7 separate regions of the Homo sapiens genome follow, and regions 2, 3, 4, 5, 6 and 7 are each linked to region 1. Evidence: promoter capture Hi-C in 16 types of primary human blood cells and fetal thymus (Javierre and others, 2016). All regions are on one chromosome and are shown on one strand. The core of a region is centred on a gene start or on the middle of the fragment in contact, and the rest is flanking DNA. Distances in the headings are between cores, read along the strand shown.

The links. The method cuts DNA at HindIII sites, captures the fragments that hold promoters and counts their contacts. A CHiCAGO score of 5 or more calls a contact.
Region 2: a contact is called between a fragment that was not itself captured here and the fragment with the promoter of LINC01948 in region 1, in 13 of 17 cell types (naive B cells, neutrophils, total B cells and 10 more). The highest score is 17.7, in naive B cells.
Region 3: a fragment that was not itself captured here is called in contact with the fragment with the promoter of LINC01948 in region 1 in 15 of 17 cell types (total B cells, naive B cells, neutrophils and 12 more); the score reaches 24.9 in total B cells.
Region 4: a fragment that was not itself captured here is called in contact with the fragment with the promoter of LINC01948 in region 1 in 3 of 17 cell types (naive B cells, total B cells and neutrophils); the score reaches 7.9 in naive B cells.
Region 5: a fragment that was not itself captured here is called in contact with the fragment with the promoter of LINC01948 in region 1 in 1 of 17 cell types (naive B cells); the score reaches 6.1 in naive B cells.
Region 6: a fragment that was not itself captured here is called in contact with the fragment with the promoter of LINC01948 in region 1 in 17 of 17 cell types (total B cells, naive B cells, neutrophils and 14 more); the score reaches 33.7 in total B cells.
Region 7: a contact is called between a fragment that was not itself captured here and the fragment with the promoter of LINC01948 in region 1, in 3 of 17 cell types (naive B cells, neutrophils and total B cells). The highest score is 12.3, in naive B cells.

Annotation. Positions count from the first base shown.
Region 1 is chr5:56,479,994-56,483,173 of GRCh38, forward strand. It overlaps LINC01948 (long intergenic non-protein coding RNA 1948), which reads right to left and starts at 1,776. Exons shown (of 5, transcript NR_104664.1): 1 at 1,560-1,776. RefSeq lists enhancers at 175-344, 1,545-1,704. The HindIII fragment of the contact is 6,332 bases long and covers 1-3,180 here.
Region 2 is chr5:56,801,682-56,805,273 of GRCh38, forward strand. No RefSeq gene overlaps it. Among named protein-coding and RNA genes, the nearest start is that of MAP3K1, 12 kb to the right of the region's middle. The HindIII fragment of the contact is 960 bases long and covers 991-1,950 here.
Region 3 is chr5:56,852,943-56,856,105 of GRCh38, forward strand. The region is part of intron 1 of MAP3K1 (mitogen-activated protein kinase kinase kinase 1); the gene reads left to right. Among named protein-coding and RNA genes, the nearest start is that of MAP3K1, 39 kb to the left of the region's middle. The HindIII fragment of the contact is 3,900 bases long and covers 1-3,163 here.
Region 4 is chr5:56,895,001-56,898,225 of GRCh38, forward strand. MAP3K1 (mitogen-activated protein kinase kinase kinase 1) reads left to right here. Exons shown (of 20, transcript NM_005921.2): 20 at 1-1,152. It overlaps LOC105378980 (a long non-coding RNA gene), which reads right to left. Exons shown (of 3, transcript XR_948347.4): 3 at 1,437-1,580. Among named protein-coding and RNA genes, the nearest start is that of SETD9, 13 kb to the right of the region's middle. The HindIII fragment of the contact is 1,808 bases long and covers 438-2,245 here.
Region 5 is chr5:56,782,917-56,786,145 of GRCh38, forward strand. No RefSeq gene overlaps it. Among named protein-coding and RNA genes, the nearest start is that of MAP3K1, 31 kb to the right of the region's middle. The HindIII fragment of the contact is 5,570 bases long and covers 1-3,229 here.
Region 6 is chr5:56,830,852-56,834,477 of GRCh38, forward strand. The region is part of intron 1 of MAP3K1 (mitogen-activated protein kinase kinase kinase 1); the gene reads left to right. Among named protein-coding and RNA genes, the nearest start is that of MAP3K1, 17 kb to the left of the region's middle. The HindIII fragment of the contact is 8,698 bases long and covers 1-3,626 here.
Region 7 is chr5:56,870,313-56,873,517 of GRCh38, forward strand. MAP3K1 (mitogen-activated protein kinase kinase kinase 1) reads left to right here. Exons shown (of 20, transcript NM_005921.2): 7 at 1,598-1,719; 8 at 2,329-2,410; 9 at 2,513-2,693. Among named protein-coding and RNA genes, the nearest start is that of SETD9, 38 kb to the right of the region's middle. The HindIII fragment of the contact is 4,014 bases long and covers 1-3,205 here.

The DNA.
Region 1 (3,180 bases), core at 526-3,025:
GCCCTGGCTACATAATTTGCCGGGTGCAGTTCAAACTGAAAATGCAGGGTCCTTTTCAAAAATTATTAAGCATGTCAACATGGTGTCAGTAGAGCATCCAACTAAGCACACGTCGGCTTCTGAGCACAGGTCACAGGCCCAAAAACCCAGCCATGCCAAGCAATGACTATCCAATAAGTCAAACACCAGGAAACCCCAACCCCTCCACAGCCCTGCGGCTGCTGCAGCAGAAAAACAAAAACAAAACAGACACTCAACACCATCAGCATCAGCTCTTCCCAAACCACCAGCCTTCCTCAGAACCTCCCTCATTTGACCTGTTTTAACTCGTGTTCCCTCGACCTTCAAATTTTCAGTGTCCACAAAGCAGATCAAGGCTATCACAAAACAAAACAAACACCAAAAAGCCAACCCACTGGATCTAGAGACCTACGGACTTGCCCTCCTGATACTTGCAGCTGGTGTTTAAGGACGTGCCTGCCTTGGGCGATGGGCGGGTAGAAACCTCACACACCAAAGCCCATCGAGCTAAACTCAAGGTTGCGAACCCCAACCCCGGTGGGAACACGGTCTGCAGACACGCTCCCTTAAGTCCCTGTCGCACACAATAAATTGCTTTCTGAATATTCCCTTTACAACTGCAAAAAATAGAAATGGCTGTAACTGTGCAGAGAAAGAAAAGAGAAGCTGGGATGAGCTCCATCAGGGGCCGAATCTGCTTCTCGCTGGTGGATACTGTGATAAGAAACCTAGATCTGAACGGCCTCACAATGGCCTATTTATCCGGCTCTTACGCACGGCCGGCAGCCCCGGCTGGGAATCACGGGGGTGGCAGCCGTCCCCGGAAAACGGCGGCATTCCGACACAGGAAAGCCCGCGGATCAACTGATCTGCAGACAACGCTTCTTCCTTCCTGGGAAGCGGCCACAAAGGCAGCCAGCTGACCCCGGCCCAGCGCGGCTCCCGGCCGAGGAGGACAGGGGCGGGGTGGGGAGGGGGGGAATCGTCGCCCGCCCCGCCCCCACCCCCCAAGTTTCCTTTGGCAAAAGCATCCCAGGCGTGGTTCAGGCAGAGTCCACGCCAGCGAGGCTGGGGCCGAAACTCTCCACGCCAGGAAGGCGGGGTAGGCGGACCCGCCGCCCCCAGCCCCGCGCGCCCGCCGCGCCCCCCACGGCCCCCACCAGCTGGCTCTTCCGGCCGGGGCGGCCTTGGCCTGGGGCTGGGGTTGACTTTGGTGGGGGGACAGGAAGGACTGGCACAGCGCCCGCGACTGTCCCCTGAGGAGGACCCTCCCTACGACTTTTGGTCAAAAGCAAAAAGAAACACAGACATGTGCGTCACCCCGGGAAGCGCGCGGGGGTTTCGCTCGCGTTTCAGGAGCCGACTTCGCATCCTCCCTCGGTAGGGGGGTCGGGGGTTCCTAAAATTTACCCCCCAACTTCACTTCTCTGGCGACAGAGCACCTTAACAGTTCATTTCCCTCTCGCTCTCAAGTGAAAACATCTTATTTTTGTGTTAAAATGTATAAAGACACCATGAGAATTGGCAGGAGGTCAAACCGTAGATTCTGAGATGCTCCGGTCGCTCCCCAGGAAGCGCTGTTTTCGGAAGTGTTGACCCAGCAGCTGGTCCCTGCTGCTCTAATGACACGATGTGTGCTTTCACTTTTTCACTCCCAAAACGACGTGGTTTGGAGTCTTGAGAGCCTTGGAAATCGCTGCCCGTGGAGGGAAAGGTCTGGAGAGGCCAGGCCAGGAGAGCAGACATGCTGCAAGAAGCGGAGGCAGCCCTGTGAACTCGCCTGGCTCCGCAGGGAGGGGCGAGGCTGTCCAGGTCGCAGGTGGAGCTGGCCAGCTGCGAGCCAGGATGTCCTTGCTCTTTCCAAATTATACACAGTTTCCACAAGGAAAAAAGAGAGGGGTAGGGGGTCCAGGCAGATCTTCAGCTGTTTGTATACTCTGCACCAGGAGGCGCTATCATCAGCCCGGACCCCTACTCCACAGGACTGAGGAGACCACAATTCTTCCCTCCAGGCAGAATCGTGGACCCAATATTCCCGTCTCCCCGAATTCTCTTAACTCAGTATACTGCCATTAACAGCATAGTCAGCCTTCTGGACTTGAACTCCAGAAGGAATTTTGTCTCATTTAGTGCCTGCAGGGGAGCAGGATGAGATAGTACCTCTTGTACCGGCACAAGGTCTCTGAGTTGACTCTTACATAAACATTGCGCTGTTTCTAGGGACGGCATCATTTCTTGACCTAGAGAAACAAAGATATTGTGGGAAGGACCCCTGATGCTCAGTGGCAGTTTGGAGACCTGGCATTAGCCTTACTCAGTAAGGCTTCCTGATCTAGCAGGACTGATCCAGTCAGCTTTGATGATCCCCTAGCCTGGTACTGGGATTCTTCCAAACACCCATGAGATCACCCACATCTCACAGGGGCTGGTAGTGTTCCAGCAGAGAAAGGTGAGGGTAGCAAGCAGTAGTCACTTTGGGCCTGAAATGAACATCTTGGGGTTTTTATATCTGCCCACCCACTATGGGACATTATTGTCCCTTCCTCTTTGCTACAGTGTTTCCAGAAAATGAGAAGTAGCATCTTCTTAGAAATAGATTGGGTACCCTGTCTTAGACCTAGTTCCTTTTTTTTTGTTTTTTTGAGACGCTGTCTCACTCTGTCTCCCAGGCTGGAGTACAGTGGTGCGATCTGGGCTCACTGCAACCTCCGCCTTGGGGGTTCAAGTAATTCTCCTGCCTCAGCCTCCTGAGTAGCTGGGAATCCAGGTGTGTGCCACCACACTCGGCTAATTTTTGTATTTTTAATAGAGACAGGGTTTCACCATATTGGCCAGGCTACCCTTGAACTCCTGACCTCAAGTGATTCGCCTGCCCCAGCCTCCCAAAGAGCTGGGCAGTTACTTTTATTATAGTTCTAGATAACATAGAAAAGAACATGGAAAGCAGCTATGCAAGCAAAACACAAACACAAACAACCCTGTTAAAAAGTGGGCAAAAGACATGAACAGACACTTCTCAAAAGAAGACATGCAAGCAGCCAACAAATGTGAAAAGATGCTCAGCATTGCTGATTATCAGAGAAATGCAAATCAAAACCACGATGAGATCTCACACCACTCAGAATGACTATTATTAAAAAGTCAAAAAAACAACAGATG
Region 2 (3,592 bases), core at 221-2,720, 320 kb after region 1:
CTTGAAGAAGAGTTGTGGGAGAATTAAATGGAGTGACAGTATGCAAAATGCCTGACACACAAGAGTTCTCAGCAAATGCTAGTTGAATTGAATTCTAGATTACTCATTCTCGGGAAGGAATTCATCTCTAATTTTAGTCTTTCCATCAATAAATTTGATACGTTTATTTTGTTTTCTGGATTATTGAGTAGTCCTCCTCCCTTCAAAAATAATCAACTCATTTTGGGCAAAGTACAGAAGAAGCAAGTAAGAATAAAAGGAATATTAAATATTGCAATGGCAATAAAAAGAATTAAAATCTTTGCGATATGAATAAGCTCACAGAGCAGCCCAGACTTTTTGGTGTACATTGTCAAGGAAGGCAGTGAATCCAATAATGTTAATAACTTCCCTATGTATATAAGGGCAACTGCAGACTTTCAGAGAGAACCCAACCCATTGTAATTTTATGCCATCCTCTTATTAAGAATGGCCTCTTGACAGTTACCTAAGCTCATATTATCATCCTTGATTAAATTAATATGAGAAGGATGACAAGTGCTGAGATACTTCCCTTCAAATAAGATGAAAACAGCATCCAAGGAATAAGGAAGAAATACAAGCGAAGAGGTCAAAAATCAGCTGAGTTAGCAGGGGCTACTCTAAACAGATGCTCAGCCTCTCAGGAGACTGACAGCTCCAGTATGCGATGGGCCAGGCAGTTTGGGAGCTGCCCCTTCCTTCTGCCAGACCAGATGATGATTAGCATCTGACACATGAATAGGAATAGCTGGGCCTGGGCCTGAAACTGCAGGGAGGGGCACTGGTCCCAGCCAACAAGCCTGCAAAGCAGTTGGAGAATAGAAAAATGCAAATGTCCTAGGTCTCCTCAGCCATTAATTCAGAATCTAAGTACTGGTATATAGTTAGCTGTTTCAGGAAGATAAAGAACTGCTTTTAGAAAAAGATAGCCATTTACAAATCAGCTTAGGATTGTTCTTATATTTCAGAAGCTTTTTATTTCCAATAACATTTCTATAGAATATCACCCCTGAACATGTTAATATTTGAACAAATTTTAAAAACCTAAATCTTCCTGGAATTAGGTTGTACTCATTTTGCCAATATCCTACTTCTAATGGAGGAGGTGAATCATTAAGACAAAATTTAGGGAACCTCTGAGATATCAAAATTGATTTAAAATAACATGAAAAATTGTATTTCCATGGTCTTACTTTGCCTAACCCAATGGTTTCTTCCCTTTAAACGAGTTGGCATCCCAATGTTTTCACATATACTAATGAGCTAACAACAATACTCATGGATTTTATACTAATCTATTTAGAAATAAAGAAGATAGCCTTGTGATTTTACCAGCATTTGAAGCACTCCTCAAAGAAAAATCATTCTTAGTTTATTTTGCCTCTCTCAGACTGGGATAGGATATGGCTTGCTCTGTAGCCCACGAAACAGAGTGAAGAGCTTCTGTCTCAGCTTCCACAGATTACCATGTTCTATTACAGTTGGCACAGCAGATTCTCTGCCCACTAAATCATCTGAAGCAACAGATGGATCCCACAATTGCCAATAAATATTTGTGAAGGGGGAGGCTTTCTGCAGAGATTTCCTGTGTTTTAGAGCTTTTGCTGCAATGATACTTTTAGTTTTTCATCTTAGAAATTATTTTTCTTTGTAATTTGAGATGGAAGTCAATGATGAGTATCGTCTTAGGATGTGCAGAGCAGTACTAAATTAAAACCAAAAACCAAGATTCTCTCATCTCATGTGTTGTTTTCAGTTTGTTTTTTGAGCTTAGCACCTCACATCTTCTTGGTCTACCTTTTACTTCTGCTCTGGCGGCAGCTCACTGTGGCCCCACAGCATCTCTCTCTAGCCCCACCCTGTTATGGCTCACTTCTGCCCCAGGTGAAGGTGCCAGTGGTAAGCCGATTGCCTTCTGCACAGGCACAAAGCTTGAAACGTGGAAGGGTAACACCTCCTGGCCCAGAGCTTGTCCACTGAAGACAGGAGCTGAAGGGTAAATGTTACCCTACCCTCTCCCATTTCTCCAGTGTATAATGTGAGGCACCTTCCACACAGCTCCCCAGATGGGCCCAGAGGGACTGAGCCCCAACCGTCCATGACGGTGGAAATCAACTGGATAAGGCCCCCCAGGCCTGGTTTTCACCTCCCTCACTCCTGTTTCCTCATCTCAGGATCTGCTTTCAAGGGACACAGATTAAACTCCTACCAATGGTGACTGTTTCTTTTGTCCTTAGCAAATACCAGACATTATCCACTTTTTAAAGTGTTTTCAGTCTGGCAGGAAATAAATGTCACCATTTTCATCTGCATGTGTGATTATTAGTAAGTGAAAGAGAAAACACTTTTAAAAATCACAAGTAAACCACAATAAAAAATCAGTAGTTTCTCCTAAGATAAAAACCAATACTTTGTTGCCTCTTCCCCCAACCCAGATGAAGGTATTACTTTCTGATTTTCACACGACAAATATGGTGCCAAGGAAACAACATACCAGAAGTCTTTTCCTACTACCTTATAGCTCTTGAAATGTTAAGACAGGACCAGGAAATGATGGGTATTATTTGAATTTGGGCCTTTGTCTATATGTGACGGACTTTCATAAACTGTTAGAGACGGACTAGATGTTAAATATCACCAAGTTGAGTATTCCGGCTTAGAAAAATGGAGACACTAAGACCCAGTGAAGAGAAGTAATGGAGAGACTTGCCACCTGTGACACAGACAAGGGTAGCCCTGGCCTGGAACTCCTGACTCTTTGGTGCTTTTCCTGCTAAGCCATGTTGTCCTTTCTTCAGAAATTGATCATTTGGCTTTCCCACAACATCCTCACTTGTGGTATCTTATAAGACCACATTTACTACTGAAATAAGAAATGTTATAATTTCACCATAAAGGCATCACAAAGAACGATTTTTTAAAGAAAAATATCCAGAGACATGATATCTTTGTAGGAAACATTATTATGGTGAGCTCCAGAGAGAGCTTTCTGAAGGGTCCCAAACTGCAATTTATTACTGGAATACTGGGATCCTAGTTCAAAGGTGACATAAAATATGAGGTCAGCATGAGTATCTAAAATACACAAGACAAAACTGAGAGTTGCTAACACAAAATCAAGACCAATAAATAGGCCAGGCACAGTGGCTCATTTCTGTAATCCCAGCACTTTGGGAGGCCGAGGCAGCAGATCACTTGAGATCAAGAGTTCAAGACCAGTTTGGCCAACATGGTGAAACCCCATCTCTGGGTGTGGTGGCGCATGCTTGTAATCCCAGCTACTTGGGGGGCTGAGGCATGAGAACAGCTTGAACCCAGGAAGCAGAGATTGCAGTGAGCCTTGCAAGATCCCACCACTGCATTCCAGCTTGGGTGACAGAGTGAGACTCCATCTCAAAAAAAAAAAAATCAATTAATAAAAAGTGTCAGAGATCTTAAATTTTTTAGAAGCCTATACCTACCAGCAGCATAAGGGAGCCTGGACATCTAGATCTCACAAGACTACCTTACAGAGTTAACTTCGTCTCTTTGGATATGTTAGAGATTTACCTTAAGTTTTCACATGTACAGT
Region 3 (3,163 bases), core at 309-2,808, 370 kb after region 1:
ATATATGCCTGGCTTATGGAAGATTATATGTTAGGATTATAACAAAAACAATACAAGTATGTAAAAAAATTTTTCACAGTTTGGTTCTGTTTCAGAGAGAAATTAAACAGAGTAGATGTGATTTATTCGTGGCAAATACAATAGGATTTACTATATATTTCATTGATTCAAAGATCCCAGTGGTTGTAAGTTGTACCATTATTTTATATACTATGAAGGAAATAACACCTGCCAGTTAAATTATAATAACTTTTGATTGCAAGAGGCATTCATATTTCAGATATTAAAATGTGAAAAAATACACATTTTAAAATTAATGACATGTAATTATTACAAAGAGACTAGGAAAAACACTTTGGTTTATATTTGCAGATTAATTTAGGAACAGTGAAAATTGTTCTGAACAACATCTAAATTGCAAATTTAGTCTTAATTAAATACAGAATTATAAAAAAAGTTAATAAGAATAGTCATTAAAATTTAAAACTGGGAAGGCTGTAGGACTGCCAGAGTTAATAAGTGATCATTCACTTAATATATGTTCATACTTATTATGAGCCAGACATGCTTAGATGTTAGGTGTATAGATGGCGATAACACGTGGTCCCCTCACTCATGGAGCTTACAGTTCATAAGAGAGGAACAGTTTGCAAACTGCATTAACCATGTTAAAGGAAAAATACAAGTGCTGTGAAAGAATGGAACTGGGAGTTCTTAATTGAAATTGGGAAAGTCTCTGAGGAGTTGAGGAAAATCTAGAGAGTGGGTAGAAATTAGGTAAAAAGTAGACAGAGAAGGAAGCAGCCTGTCCAGAAGCCCTGAGTAGGAAAGATCTTGGGGTTATTGAGGCAGTGAAGAAGGGGGGTTGCAGGTCTGATGACAGGAATTGAGGTGAGACCACGAGGTGCAGGGCCACTTAGGTTGGGCTAAACATTTTGGATTTTAGTCTAAGCCCGGGGGGAACCACTAGAGCATTTTAATGGAGGAAGTAACCCTGGCTGCACTGTGAAATCTGGGTAAGATTCAAAGTTAAAGAAGCCTCGTTAGGAGCCTGTTGCTAGTTCAGAGCAGGTTTAAGAGCAGCTTGACCTGGATGGGCGTGTGAATGGAAGACATATTTTTTAGAAGATTATTTGACAATATTATCAAAAGTCTTCATTTGTGTACATTTTTAACCCAGCATTTCCATTTCTAGGTGTTTATTCTAAAGAAATAATTTAGGCCAAATGTGGTGTAATCCCAGCACTTTGGGAGGCCGAGGTGGGTGGATCACCTGAGGTCAGGAGTTCGAGACCAGCCTGACCAACATGGTGAAACCTCATCTCTACTAAAAACACAAAATTAGCCAGGCGTGGTGGCACATGCCTGTAATACTAGCTACTTGGAAGGCTGAGGCAGGAGAATCACTTGAACCTGGGAGGCGGAGGTTGCCAGTGAGCCTATTGCACCATTGCACTCCAGTCTGGGCAACAAGAGCTAAACTCCATCTCAAAAAAAAAAAAAAAAAAGAAAGAAAAAAGAAAAAAATAATCTCATAGTCCTTAAACATAAATAAGGTAAAACGAAATTTAAAAAAGAATCTCAGATGTGTGTAAAAGTTCAGCTACTAGAATGCTCATCCCTATTATTTATGATAAAAGAAATTGGTCTAAAAGATGACAGTATTTTCAAACAAGTGGAAAGGAAAGAGACACATTAGACTTTAAGGAGGCCATGCCATCCAGAAAGATTTGTTTAGACAAGGAACATCCTTTGTGTGTTTGACTCAGGGCCAGGAACAGAAACTGAAAATCCATAGCAGAGAAGAGATACTCCTGAAACAGATTTGGGGGAAGAGAGATAGCTAGGACCAGAGGAAAGACTATCAAGCACCTTGGTCTAGGAGTGCAGGAGTTTCTGGTATAAAAATGCACTGCAGTTCCACTGTGAGGCTTATTTTTTGGAACTAGCCTGGGAACCAAACCACCTCTTGCAACATTGTTACTGGAGGGGGAAAGCGCTTTTAATACTAAAGACTTGGAAGTGAATTTTTATTATGCAGTCACCACATAAATTCAGTTGCCTACAAAGCTGAGCCTCCTGGAATACCAACTGAGCAGGATGGACTTTTTTGGAAGACACTTTATCCCCTGTGTTCTTCACCCCTACCTCTCTTTCTCTGCCTTCCTCTCCCTCCTCCTTTTTCTCCTCCTCCTTTCTTCTCTGCCTTCTTCCCTTCTCTCCATCCCCCCTTCCTCTTTCCTTCTTTCTCCTCCCTCCCTCTCTTACTTTCTTCTACACATCCCCTAATATTTATATTTTATAATCAGCATAAAAAGCAGCCAAGCACATATAAGTAAATTAGATAATCCTCCTTTTTTCATACTTTTTGAAAGTCTCATATTGCTTCTATATAACAGTATTTGTGTGTGTATGTGTGTGTAAGGAAATATTTTACGCTGTGGTCTTAATGCCTATTTGCAAGTTTCAAACCAAATGTTATGTATTCTTTGTATTTCTAAAAATGTCTAGGCCAGTTGCTGATACAAAGATGTTTAATATGTTGCCTTCTACTTTCCTCACAGTCTTGATGCTTCAGTGAAACGGGTTAACCGTTTCCTTTCTAGTGAATATTTTTTTTTAAGTAGTTTCTTCTTCCTTTGGCTGATTCTCTGAAGATCGTACTTCATAGTTGTGATTAGCTGGAAAATTCCTAGAGGAGTTTGAATTTGTCTTTGTAGTAAACTTGAGGTTCTTGTTTTTGGTATTTCCTTGAGTATTTCCTTTTCCTATCAGTGTAGAAAAACTGTTCTCTAGCTTTAAAGACTTTTCAAAATAGTTACTGAAATTAGCTTAGTATTTTTAAAGTTGTTACTAATCCCAAGGTGCAGTTGCTTTAACTGCATCCTTATAAATCAGGTTTTCAAATCTATGCATATCGTGTATGCATGTATGCTCATGTGGATATGGGTATATTTTAAAATTAGTGATTTTCGTGAGCTTGATGCTTTGCCTGTTAGGCTTTGTAGAGTTAATTCTCAAACGTTCTTAGTTTAGAGATTGTTTTATTCTGGTAAATCCACACCATTTTATGGAGTAAAGATCAAATGTTTGTACTGGATAATTTTTATTCTTTATAGAGTACCCCAAGTGCTTTGTTATGAAGTCACTGTTCTATGAAAAT
Region 4 (3,225 bases), core at 92-2,591, 410 kb after region 1:
TAAATCAAGTACTGATTAACTATTAAGTACAACTTTGAGATTTTAGTTTTAACTCTTCAGAAGCCAGTGTGAAATAGAATTGGTTATTCTCAAAGACTCAGGATAAACTAAATAAGCTATATATAGAGTACATTTAAAATGTACAACACAAATTGGAAATAAAATAAGTTACAAGATAAGTTTACAGGGATATATTGCTTACAATTTTTAAAAGGCAGTTTGTTTTTTATGTGAATATGTTTCTTAGTGAAATTTTACATTCCTTTGTTTTGGAAGATTGGCGATATTTGAAGAGTTAAAAATAGTACAGAAATGTGAAGTTTGGTATCTCTAAATGTGTTGTACTTGACTTTCTTTTTTATTTTGTTTTTTTTTTTTTTTGACTACTTAGAATTTTCACAATTCTAATAAGATTGTTTCCAAGTCTCTCATGTGCAAGCTTTAAAGGATGCACTCTTGCCATTTTATGTACTGGAAGATCATTGGTCAGATGAATACTGTGTCTGACAAAAATGTAAACTGTATAAACTGAGGAACCTCAGCTAATCAGTATTACTTTGTAGATCACCATGCCCACCACATTTCAAACTCAAACTATCTGTAGATTTCAAAATCCATTGTGTTTGAGTTTGTTTGCAGTTCCCTCAGCTTGCTGGTAATTGTGGTGTTTTGTTTTTTGTTTTGTTTTCAATGCAAATGTGATGTAATATTCTTATTTTCTTTGGATCAAAGCTGGACTGGAAATTGTATCGTGTAATTATTTTTGTGTTCTTAATGTTATTTGGTACTCAAGTTGTAAATAACGTCTACTACTGTTTATTCCAGTTTCTACTACCTCAGGTGTCCTATAGATTTTTCTTCTACCAAAGTTCACTTTCACAATGAAATTATATTTGCTGTGTGACTATGATTCCTAAGATTTCCAGGGCTTAAGGGCTAACTTCTATTAGCACCTTACTGTGTAAGCAAATGTTACAAAAAAAAAAAAAAAAAATCTCTGGGTTAAGAAAATTTGGCTTAAATGTATCCTTTGTTATTTTAAATATATTGAGATATTTTAATTAAAATTTTTACCCCATTGAACCGATTTTATAGTATTTGTACCTATTTTGGTGTTTTTGTCTTTATAGTAAATAAAAGTTTTTGAACAAATGTTGTTACTTTTATTTATTTTGAAATAATTTCATACTTATATAAAAGTTGCAAGAATACCACAGAGAACTTCTGTATACCCTTCACCCAAAGACCCCAGTCAGGTTTCACCAGCTGCCCATTTATGTCCTTTATAGCAAGAGGATCCAAACCAGGATCACATGTTGCTCTCAGTTGTCATGTTTCTTCAGTCTCATTGAATCCAGGGCCATTCCTTAGTTCTTCCTTGACCTTAATGGCCTTAATTTTTTAAAGATTTCAGATTATTGTTTTATAGAAGCTCTTCAAATTGAGTTTGTCTGGTGCTGCTTCTTGATTAGATTCAGAGTATGCACTTTTGGCAGGAACATCACAGAGGTGATGCTGTGCTCCTCTCGGTGTGTCATGTCAGGAGGCATAGAGGTCGTTTGCCCCATCACTGGTGATAACTGATAGTAACACTGTATAGTTAGTCTTTCCTTTTATAATTAAAATCCACCTTTATAATTGGAAGTATTCTTTGGGGGTGATATTAGAGACTACATAAATATGATGTTTCTTGCCCAGTTTTAACTCTGCTCTTAGCTTTTTTGCCTGAATATATTACTCTGATGGTTGCCAAATGGTGATGTAGTTCCTTCACTTTTTCTTTGCAACATTTTGCTGCAAAGAAGAGCTTTCCCTTCTCCCATTTATTTATCATGTATCATCATATATTTGCTCAACTTGTTGCGGATTTGCCCAGTGGGAATGTCTGAGAGCTAGCTTCTCTATCCTTGGCAAGCCACCATTATTCTTTGAACACTTCCATACTTTCAGCCCCATCTTACGCAATGTCTCCTTTGGCCCTGGAATCAGCCATTTTCCCAAAGAGCCCTGATTCCTTTGATAGAGAATGGTATGTTTAAAACCAACATCTGGGTGCTAGATAGGCTCAATTCTACTGGATGTCACCACTCCTTGGCTGTCTTGGTAGAGCTAGAATGTATTTATGAATATGCACAGTTCGGTGCACACTTGCAAAGTACGCATACATATACCTACCTACATACATAAAAACCATGAGCTCACACCAACCTTCCAACTGCAATCCAACACCAACAGGGTTCATTCAAGCTTTCCCTTTTTCCAAATTTGTAACTTTCTTCTCAGGCAGTGAGAATCATGACTGATTATTCCCAACATATTGACTTACTTGCTTAATTCTTCCTCATGTCCCTCCCCCATGTAACCGATCTCCATGCAAAATGGTTAATGTTGCTGAGTTCAGAAGCCATTTTGTTTCTCTACATTGGTTTCAAGTTTCTGTATAATTTGATTTGTTGTTTTTTTTGTTTTTTTTTTTTTTTTTTTTTTTGAGACAGTCTCACTCTGTTGTCCACGTTGAAGTGCAGTGGCACAATCTCAGCTCACTAAAGGCTCTGCCTCCCAGGTTCAAAGGATGCTCCTGCCTCAGCCTCCCGAGTAGCTGGGATTACAGGTGGACACCACCATGCCTGTCTAATTCTTGTATTTTTAGTAGAGACAAGGTTTCACCATGTTGGCCAGGCTGGTCTCGAATTCCTGACCTCAGGTGAACCACCTGCCTCGGCCTCCCAAAGTATAATTTGATTTTAAATGTAAGTCTTTTAAATAGGTTTTGGGTATTTTTTGCAAAAGGGTACATTTCTGTCACTTAAAAATATTAAGTTGGAGAAAAGTTTTTTTTCCAGATGAAGTAATAGAACCAATTCTATTGCTCCTTAATTCTATTTAAATGATATTAATAATTTTATAAAATGGGTGACAGTCTTCATGTCAGAATCCAGAAAAATGTTGGGGTATTGTGCTCATAGAAATGCCAATGATTGCATTTATGAGCTGATGTAAGTCATTTGTTATAAAACAATGCATGAAATAACTACAGTGAGGGAAAACTGACTAATGGAAACTTATACAAATTGCTGTCTTTCTATGTCATGACGTGGTTTGGCCGTTTTAAATTATACTATAAGCATAAATGCCAGGTTGAGCTGTGATTAAAAAGGAAAGGACGGGCCTCTTAAAGTAGGTAACGACGGATGCAGTGACTACAGGACCTGAGATACAACCTGG
Region 5 (3,229 bases), core at 599-3,098, 300 kb after region 1:
TGTGGTAGGCGCTTGTTGGATGGATAGTTGGATGAAAGAAAAAACAATTTTTAAAAATGGATGGATGGATAGATGGATTTATCCCAACTTACTAGATAGCCATTGGAATTTGAATGTCCTTGAAATAGGGATGAAAATCTCACCTAACAATAAAAATATTCACAGACTTTCTTCTTAATGAGCTAATTCTCTCTTGCTAACCAACATATAGAAAAAAAATTATCTCTTGATGTTATCCAAGCCTTTTCAGGGAGGAAATACTATCCCACTCATGAGCATTTCAAACCCTGCAGAAACCAAAAAAGGTGAAAAAGAAAGGAATGTTGTTTATGGAAATAATACGTCTTGTCAGGAATTTGTGTTTTATCTCATAAAAAGAACAAAACAAAAAGAGAATCTGCCTTATGCTCTGGCATCAACAGGAAACCTAGTTCATTACAAATGTAGCCTGGATACCTCCAGGGGAAGAAAAAGATGAGTGAATGAATGAATGGATAATAGACTTGCCTTTTCTGAAGTGGAATCCAGGTTTTAATCCAGTCTTAATCCACTGTATGTGGTAACAGTTGCATTAGTAATATGCTTTGTCACAACACAAACTACCCAGACTGTAAGACTGTTGGACGTTTATACTCAAACCAAGAGTCTATGTTTTATTCATTTTGAGTGGCACAAATCAGCGCTGAGATATGGGAACTAAACCTTGAAAAGTTTCCTCCTATATTTGAAGCTGGAAAAACTTCAAGGCACTTTGATTCAAATACACATTCTATTAAAATGTGTATCTTGCTTAAGCCCAGGAGGTGGAGGCTGCAGTGAGCAGAGATCATGCCACTGCACTCTAGCACTCCAGCCTGGGCAATAGAGCAAAACCTTGTCTCAAAAAAAAAAAAAGTGTATATATTTCATACCAATTGCTTCTGTACTTAGTGTAGCTTAAGATACAAAAGCCTCTGAATCAAAACAGTAACTGCAGAATTGCTTTTACAAGTCTAATGATGTACTCAATGTAATGTGATAGGTTTCATCTAAATAATGTATAATTTTATCTGTTTTCCATTGCTTTATATTCTGTCAAATGGAAAACAGTTCTATAGAAGTCAAATTCTGGACTTCCTTTGTTATAACTATATTTCAGCTGATTAGTGTTGTTCTTTGGGACTTTCTTTTAGCAATCAGATACAATTACCATTGTTCTATAACACTGACTACCAAACTTGTTATTTCACTCTGAGAGCTGTGCCTGTCTTGTCTTTATTTTTCTCTCTTCGGGATAATATCCACTGTAGTGTCCATAAATCTTTACTGAAGGGATTCACTATTAAACTACTTAGCAAAGTTAGTATTCTTTAAAGATATTGTTTGTTTTAATGAGTAGAGAGGAGGGCAGAGTTCTGCCACATTAAGTGTAGTTAAGAGGACCCTCAACACAGCATCGACATCACCTAAGAGCATCTTAGAAATGCAGAATCTCAGAACTTTCAGACTTTAATGTGCATTTGAACCAACTGCGGATGTTAAAAAGCAGATTCTGATTCAGGAGGTCTGGGGTGGGGCCCGAGATTCTGCAGTTTGATGAGCTCACAGGTGATGTCTACACAGCTAGTCCTCAAGCCACCTCCTGAGTAGCAAGACCTAGGGAAAGAGCCCATGATGATATCGCACTTACCACGTATCTGACTAAAACAAAGAGATTTAATAAGATAAGTAGTTGTTAAATAAAGATTTACTTAGCACATAGTCTATGACTAATCCTTTTATGATTGAGTTATTTGACTTTAGATAGACCATAAGACTTCCGTTTATTATCCTTTTCTATTTAATGAACATAGTACTTCAATTTGTTTTCCAATAATGTTTACATTCGACCTTTGTATTCATTTTATGCATTCTATTTGTCATGTTACCTAAGGCCAGACAACCGTCATTTGAAATAGTTATTTTTAAGAGATAGAACCAAATACGTAAAGATATAATTTTCAAGTAAAGAAAAAACTGGTGTTTTCTTAAAAAATTTAAATCTTGTTATGATTTAATACTAGTTACATGTTGTAGGAAACAAAACCAAGTAAAGAAATTACGGCAGTCTTCAATTATTTATTTATTTATTTATTTATTTATTTATTTATTTATTTTGAGACAGAGTCTGTCTTTGTCGCCCAGGCTGAAGTGCAGTGGTGCATCTCAGCTCACTGCAACCTCTGCCTCCCAGTTTCAAGTGATTCTCCTGCCTCAGCCTCCTGAATAGCTGGGACTACAAGTGTGTGCAACCACGCCTGGCTAATTTTTGTATTTTTAGTAGAGACGGGATTTCACCATGTTGTTCAGGCTCGTCTTGAACTCCTGACCTGGTGATTTGCCCTCCTCAGCCTCCCAAAGTTCTGGGATTACAGGTGTGCACCACCGTGCCCGGCCAGCAGTCTCCAATTCTAACTTGTTAGTACAAACCTTGGAAAATCACCTAATTGATTGCCTCACCAGGTTCCTCATCTATAAAATAGGCTTAAATTTAAGTTTCCTCAAGGCATTGATGTCAAGAGATATTAACAAAACATGTTGGTTCCTCTGGTTCTGAAAGTGTGGTCCTAGGACAAGCAGCATCAGCATCCCTGGGAATTTATTGGAGAAACAAATTTTCAGACCACACCCAAGCCCAAGACCTACTGAATCAAAAACTTGGGGTGGAGGCAAGAAATCTACATTTTTAACAAGTCCTCAGGTGATTCTGATATATGTTACAATGTTAGAACCACTGCAGTCTCTATAGAGCACAGTAACGATAACTCTCAATCAGTGGAGGAAGGGGTATACTATTCTAACTAGCAATCCATATGGAACAGTAAATTAGGCCGTATTAAATCAGGAACAATAAATTAGGGCTTACCTCACAATATTACACGTTTAAATCTATGCTGATTAAAAATATAAGTATAAATAGGGCCAGGCGCAGTGGCTCACGCCTGTAATCCCAGCACTTTGGGAGGCCAAGGCGGGCAGATCATTTGCGGTCAGGGGTTGGAGACCAGCGTGGCCAACATGGCGGAACCCCATCTCTACTAAAAATACAAAAATTAGCCAGGCGTGATGGCGGGCGCCTGTAATCCCAGCTACTCGGGAGGCTGAGGCACCAGAATCGTTTGAACCTGGGAAGCAAAAGTTGCAGTGAGCTGAGATTGTACCACTGCACTACAGCCTGAGTGACAAAGCAAGACTCTGTCTCAAAAAACAA
Region 6 (3,626 bases), core at 1,063-3,562, 350 kb after region 1:
CCAAAGACAGAAAATTTTATGTTGTCATTTACTGTTTTTTTTTTAAATACCTAGTCTAGGATTGATTTTTTTTTTTTGTAATGCACTATGAGAGATTGCCTACATTAAAAGCATTGGTAACAGCACGTAAATGTTTTGTAAGAAGTTTCTGCGTAAGGAATATAATATATTTAAAATGTTAATTCATTCCCATATGCTTAAGTAGTCATGTGTGTCAGATCTTTTCAAGTACAGTGTTCTTGCATTAAAATAGCCTAGAAATTTTATTTCTGCATTCCAGTTCTGTCTTCTATAACTTTTTTTTAACCCGTGAAAATGGGATAAAATGTTGGGTTTTTTTTTTTTTTTTTTAGGATCATGTGTGTGAATTTGAGGTTCAGAGACTGCAGTCACTGCAGAGACCTGAAAGCCATTACTGTCTGTCCTCTGTGATTATATGTGTCCCCTGTGATTCCCACCTGCAGGATTAGGAATGGGAGGGAGAGCAGGGGGTAGAAAAGGGAAGGTGGCAGAATCCATCGCAAACCAGTGAACTCCAAAACCTAATCAGGCTTCTTTCTAGGCAGATTCTATGAGAGACGAAGACAGACCACAAAAAACCTAGCCCTAATTTTTTTTTAACCCATGATTTCTAATGTTTATCTATTTGTTCATTTTGTAATTCGAGTTTAATCAGACCAACTATCAGGCAGGCATTTAGTTTGCACTTTCAAAAATTGAAACTTACACATTTATTAAATGATATCCAGAATCATTTCCTTTTTCTTTTAGAACATTAAACATTAATCCTTTTGAGTATTCTCATGTATTTCAAGGTACTTATGATTGCTTATGTAGGACTAATGCAAAAATTAAATGAATTCCATGAGAATTCTTTTTTGACCTCACAAGAGTTAAGGAGACCTACTTTATGTGAAAGTGAGATTTTTATAGATAATACTTTGAAAACCTAAATTACTCTGATACTAAACAGTTTACTGTGTCTGTTAAAGTAAAAAACCTAATTGAATTGCAGTTGAAATTCAAGAGTCTAGACATTCCTTGTGGGCATATTTGATTTCCTCTTTCCCCTTTTAGCTGTTGGAGAGGGAATTGCCAGGTGTCTTTAGTGGAAAGATATTTAACCTGCTGTCTGACTGCTTATTGTGGTAGATGAAGTGTTAGCACTGGCTCAGGCTTGTGAGACCGTTCCCCATTACTGTCCTAACACTTTGGCAGGATTTTGAGTAAAGTTACTTTATTTAACCTCTTTTGAGTTTGACCTCATCTATGAATTAGAAATAATGATACCCTTCATACTTAGAGAATTTGGGAAGAGCAAATGAGATGATGAATATAAAAACCTACCCTTTCAGAAGGGTAAAAATAAAATACTAGGATTTATGGTCATAGCATTTTAGAATTCGGAAGGACAACCTCCTGACTCTAAGCAGTAAAAGTGGCAAGCAAAGGGGGTTCAGCCATTGTTGAGAGATTTCCTACTTCAGTACAGTGCTGGGTCTGGGATCCAGCCTCAATCATCCTAGTTCACTGTCACTCTCCTACTGTACTTATCTGAAATGGCAATAATAGTTAACTTCCTCTGTGCTTGGTACACTGGATGCCTTATATAAATTGTCTCATTTAAGTCTTACATCATCCTTGTGAATTTTGATTCCCATTTTACATATGAGAAATCAGAGACTGTGAGAGGTGAGGTATCCTGGCAAGGTGGTAGCACAGCTAGTGGGTGGCAAAGCCTGAAACTGAACCTTAGCAGTTTGACTTCAAGCCTGCGTTCTTAACCTTTATGATTATCTTTGCATATTTTTTTTAAATCAAGAGGTAAGTTTGTTTAATCAGAGCACAAATTTTATTATCTTGGAAAAATTATTCATTTCTTTGTCTTAGCTTTTATTCATTCTTCACATAGTGTATTATGAAGTCAAAATCATATGTAGTGATGACTTTTTAAATTAAATTATCTATTTAGGTCTTCCAAAAATACAGAAAACATTAGTGAAGCATTTTAAGTTTTTGTTTTGTTTTGTTTTTGTTTTGAGACGGAGTCTCGCTCTGTCACCAGGCTGGAGTGCAGTGGGGCTATCTCAGCTCACTGAAACCTCCACCTCCTGGGTTCAAGTGATTCTCCTGCCTCAGCCTCCCTAGTAGCTGGGATTACAGGCATGCATCACCGCACCCAGATAATTTTTGTGTTTTTAGTAGAGATGGGGTTTCACCATGTTGGCTAGGATGGTCTTGATCTCCTGACCTTGTGATCCGCCTGCCTCAGCCTCCCAAAGTGCTGGGATTACAGGCGTGAGCCACCATGCTCTGCCATGATTTTTTTGTTTTTATATGAAGTTCTTCTAAAATAAAGCAAGTTATAAACACAAATACATTTAAATTTCAGTGTTTTTACAAGGCCAGGGAAGAGACGCGGCTTCAGGGAAAAATATGGTTGAACTTTGTTAATACATACATTTTTTTGCCAGCAAAATTGGAGATATGCTTGGTGTGCACATACATTAAAAGCAGTAATTGTTAACACTTTTGGAGTACTTCACAGAGTGCCTGCCCAGACTGTCTGACATGCTTCTCATTTGGTGCCTACGCAGCCTTGCACAGTAGTAAGGGGAGAGTGAACACTCATGACCTCCTGCTGTCTATGCACACACTCCCTCCCCCACAGTGCCTCAGCTCACACCTGAGTATCTCTCTGCATGCTCCCAGGGAGCTTCCTGCAGTACCTTAGGCATTCTGAAACGTGTGTCTTTACAACAAGACACACTTGTTAAAGCTGTTTACAAATGAGCCTTGGCGGGGGCGGGGAAAGCTGGTTTTCATTTCCAGTTATTTTAAATTTAGGCTTATTTCACACTTCAGCATTCTTTTAATTAATGTGTTTTAATTAAAAGAATTAATTATTCTTGGTTGGTAATGCCCTTTAATTTGAGTAAAGATGATATCTAAGGCCAGCATCTAGTATTAAGTTATGCCTAGATGGACTTCTGTTCATTTATTCTGTTACTGGTGGTTGTTCTTTACTAGTGAAATAAGTTAACGAATGCCTGCCTGTCACATGTGGGGCCTTTATTTTGTGTTCAGCAGGCACCTTCTTTGATAATTATAAGAGCTTAGTGACTGAGAGAATTCAGTAATCTTCCTGACCCCTATGCCTTCCCAACAAAGGAGATTATCTTTTAGTTTATAGAAAGGTCACTCAGGTAAAACTGAAATCTCCTTCAAGGCAAGATAAATATCTTTATCCTTAACTGTGTCTCTGACATGCCATTATTTTTTCTTCAGTAGTAGTTTGCTGGCCCATAAGTCTTTTATGTGAACTGCTTATGGTTGGAAACTTAAACACTGTCACTTTAGCTCAGCACTTGTTTATTGACATACTTTCCTATGTGTATGTACTGTGCTAGGAACTGAGTGAGCCCTAGGTAAATGCTGGAGCCAGGGGAGATAAAAAGAGAGTTTAATTCTTGTGTTCTCTAGCTAGTTATTGATTACTTGTAGCTAATTTCATAAGAAACTCTTGGAGGAAACTGAAGAGTAGTTGTAGGTTCTACCTGGATGTGACAGGATTCTATGTGTATGCCTGGATATGAGGACAGCTTGTTGAATACTGCCTGTTAATT
Region 7 (3,205 bases), core at 458-2,957, 390 kb after region 1:
TGAGGCAACTTATTTAACATCCCAGAGCCTTGTCTTTATATTATAATGAAAATACGGCTATTGATTTTAAAAGCCATCCCTCACATCATGAAGGTTTAAATAAAAACATTTATGAAATAGAAAACTAAAGCCCTCTTTAGCCTGGCTGCACACAAAATAACTACTGTTAACTATTTCATACAACTTTTAAAAATTACATAAATCAAGGAATGAAACTCTTCTTTGCACACTTCGTACTTCAGCAAACACATGCACGCACGTTCCCCCATCCATGTTTCTCTCAACTTTCTTACTGTTTTTAAACAAATACAAAGTCATGCCATATGTTCTGGTGTGCAGTTTTCTTTTACTTTTACTTTATATATCAAGAATATTTTTCCACATCATCACCAAATTACATACTTTTTTCTTTTCATGGCTGTATAAGATTATGTTGGTACACCATAATTTATTTAGCCATTGCCTTAATTAATGTACATTAAGTACATCTCCACTTTTTGGTTTACATACTTAAAATATGTAGCGATAACATCCTAGAAAATAGGATTTTTAGGTCATGAATATATACCATGTAGTATTTTAAGAAATACTAACAAAATTTCCTTCCAGAGATTTTAGTTTTTACTCCTACCAGCAGTCTATATGAGAACCTGGTTTTCTGTGCCATTATCAGGGCCAGATGTTACCAATCTATTATTTTTTATTCCAATTGCCTTTTTATTTCCTTTGTCCATTGTACTATTTATTAGTATTTTTCTAACTGATTTTTAAAAGTACTTTGTATGTTAGAAATACTCAAGTATATGCAATATAATTAACCATTATGTTGCGATTTTGCCATAAATGGAATCATCCTATACATGGTAGTTTTATTTTGACCTCATTTATGGATTTCTCTGTTCCTTTTTAAAGGCTTCAAGGTGTCTGGGTTTGCCATAATTTGTTTAGCCTCTTTTTGGCATTCATTTGGTTGTTTTGATTTCTTTTCGTTATTCTAAATAATATTGCAGTGGACATTTTCATACATATATCTCTATATATTTATCTTTTTATTTTCTTACGATACATTCCTAGAAGTCTAGGTGAAAGATTGTGTACACTTAAAATGTGATGTGTTCCTAGATTCATTTCTGGGAAAGTTGGATCAGTTCATACTGCCACCAGAAATTTCTGAAATAGGCATTTAAATTTAGGATGTGGAATCTTTGAGCTCTAAGGTCCGCCAGTACTTAAAATCTTGAAACTGGTACCATGTAGTGTATTTTTATACATAGTCAAACCTGTTGGTCTATTCAAAAGGTACAGTAGCAGAATTTGGGGGATACAAATGTTTCTTTCTAAGATTGCAGTCTGTGTATTGAATTGTTTTCATAGCAAAGAAGGTTAACTCACACCTACAATCTATAAATACTCGTGTGTTAATCTGATTTTAAATTACTGTATATTAATAGTGTAAATATGTATCTCTTAGTTATATAAGATGCTCTTAAGAATTTCTAATGTATTTATATTCTAAGCAAGCAGAAAGTGTTTTTAGCATATCCGTTCTACTTTATATTCTTTTATGCTTAATACTTTTTCTTCCCCTTTTCTATAGCATAAAGGATGAAGAGGAACAGATGTGTCCTATTTGCTTGTTGGGCATGCTTGATGAAGAAAGTCTTACAGTGTGTGAAGACGGCTGCAGGAACAAGCTGCACCACCACTGCATGTCAATTTGTATGTGGCTCTTTTTCTCCCTATGCTTACTCAACACAGTTGCTCTCTGAGCTAACTATGTTATTTAAGAGTGTAACATGGCTTGAGGGGAAATTGGTGAGAGAATAAAAAAAGTATATCTAAGTCCTAAGTCCTATGTGAAAAGTTTTCAACAAATGGGAATGTAGGATCTTTAGGAGATGACCTGTGTGAGCAAAGAAATGCAATAAAGTGTGTGTGACATATGTGATAATGGAAGAAGTGCACAGAATTAGAAACAATTTCAATCTGGAAGGTATACATGAAGGGAAGGAGGTGGAAGAAGACCTGGGCAGGCATTACAGAAAGGCTAGCATCAAAGTAAGGTTTGGAAGGACTTTACCTGGTAGTCAAACAGGGCAGAATGTTTTGAAAAATAGTAAGCAGAGTACATGTTATCAGAATGAATAAAATAGCATTTGCAAATCAAAATCATTTAACCTGCTGTGTTTACTTGCTTTCAGATAAACATTTAATTAGATTATTTTTGAGGTTCCTTCTATATAAATTCTATAATTATAAACAGTTATGAAATAAAAATAATGTTAAACATTTACATTTTTGTAAGATTTTGTTTCTGTAATTTTTCAGGGGCAGAAGAGTGTAGAAGAAATAGAGAACCTTTAATATGTCCCCTTTGTAGATCTAAGTGGAGATCTCATGATTTCTACAGGTAATAATTTTGAAATGATACGGATATGTTTAATTTTTAAAAATTTCTCAGTGTGGTTTGTCTTAATTTTTTTAAAGCAAGTTTTGTTATTTTTCATTTTAGCCACGAGTTGTCAAGTCCTGTGGATTCCCCTTCTTCCCTCAGAGCTGCACAGCAGCAAACCGTACAGCAGCAGCCTTTGGCTGGATCACGAAGGAATCAAGAGAGCAATTTTAACCTTACTCATTATGGAACTCAGCAAATCCCTCCTGCTTACAAAGATTTAGCTGAGCCATGGATTCAGGTAAGTAGTTCTTTGTTTTTCATTTCTCAAAGAAATATTTATAGATCAATTAATGTATTTGTCTCCTTCCCTCAGTTGTTCATAATTTAAAAAAACACTTTTACTTGCCTCCATCATGACCTTCATTCCACTGGAAATTTTAATGTTACTTTTGGTATTAATACTATACTGCTTATTGTACAGCTTCAACTTCAAAACTTCTTGTGGTTTCACTTCACATATCTAGAAACATCTCTTCCTGAACTAACGGACATACGGGGTTATTCAAGGATAGAAGGATAGAAACCAGAACCCTTCAATGCTAACTTTTCCCAATGTTTAATCCCCGTGCCTGCCAAGAATTTTTATCATGTTTCTTATTTGCTGCCATTTAAAATTAATTTCTCTTTTCATATCCTAATGGCATACAATGGGTGCTTAATAATTGCAGAGGAGATGAATAAGAAAAAAATATGTGATGGTTACCTTGAGTTCATCATTTTTATTTGTAAGAACAGTTTCCCATCCCTTTA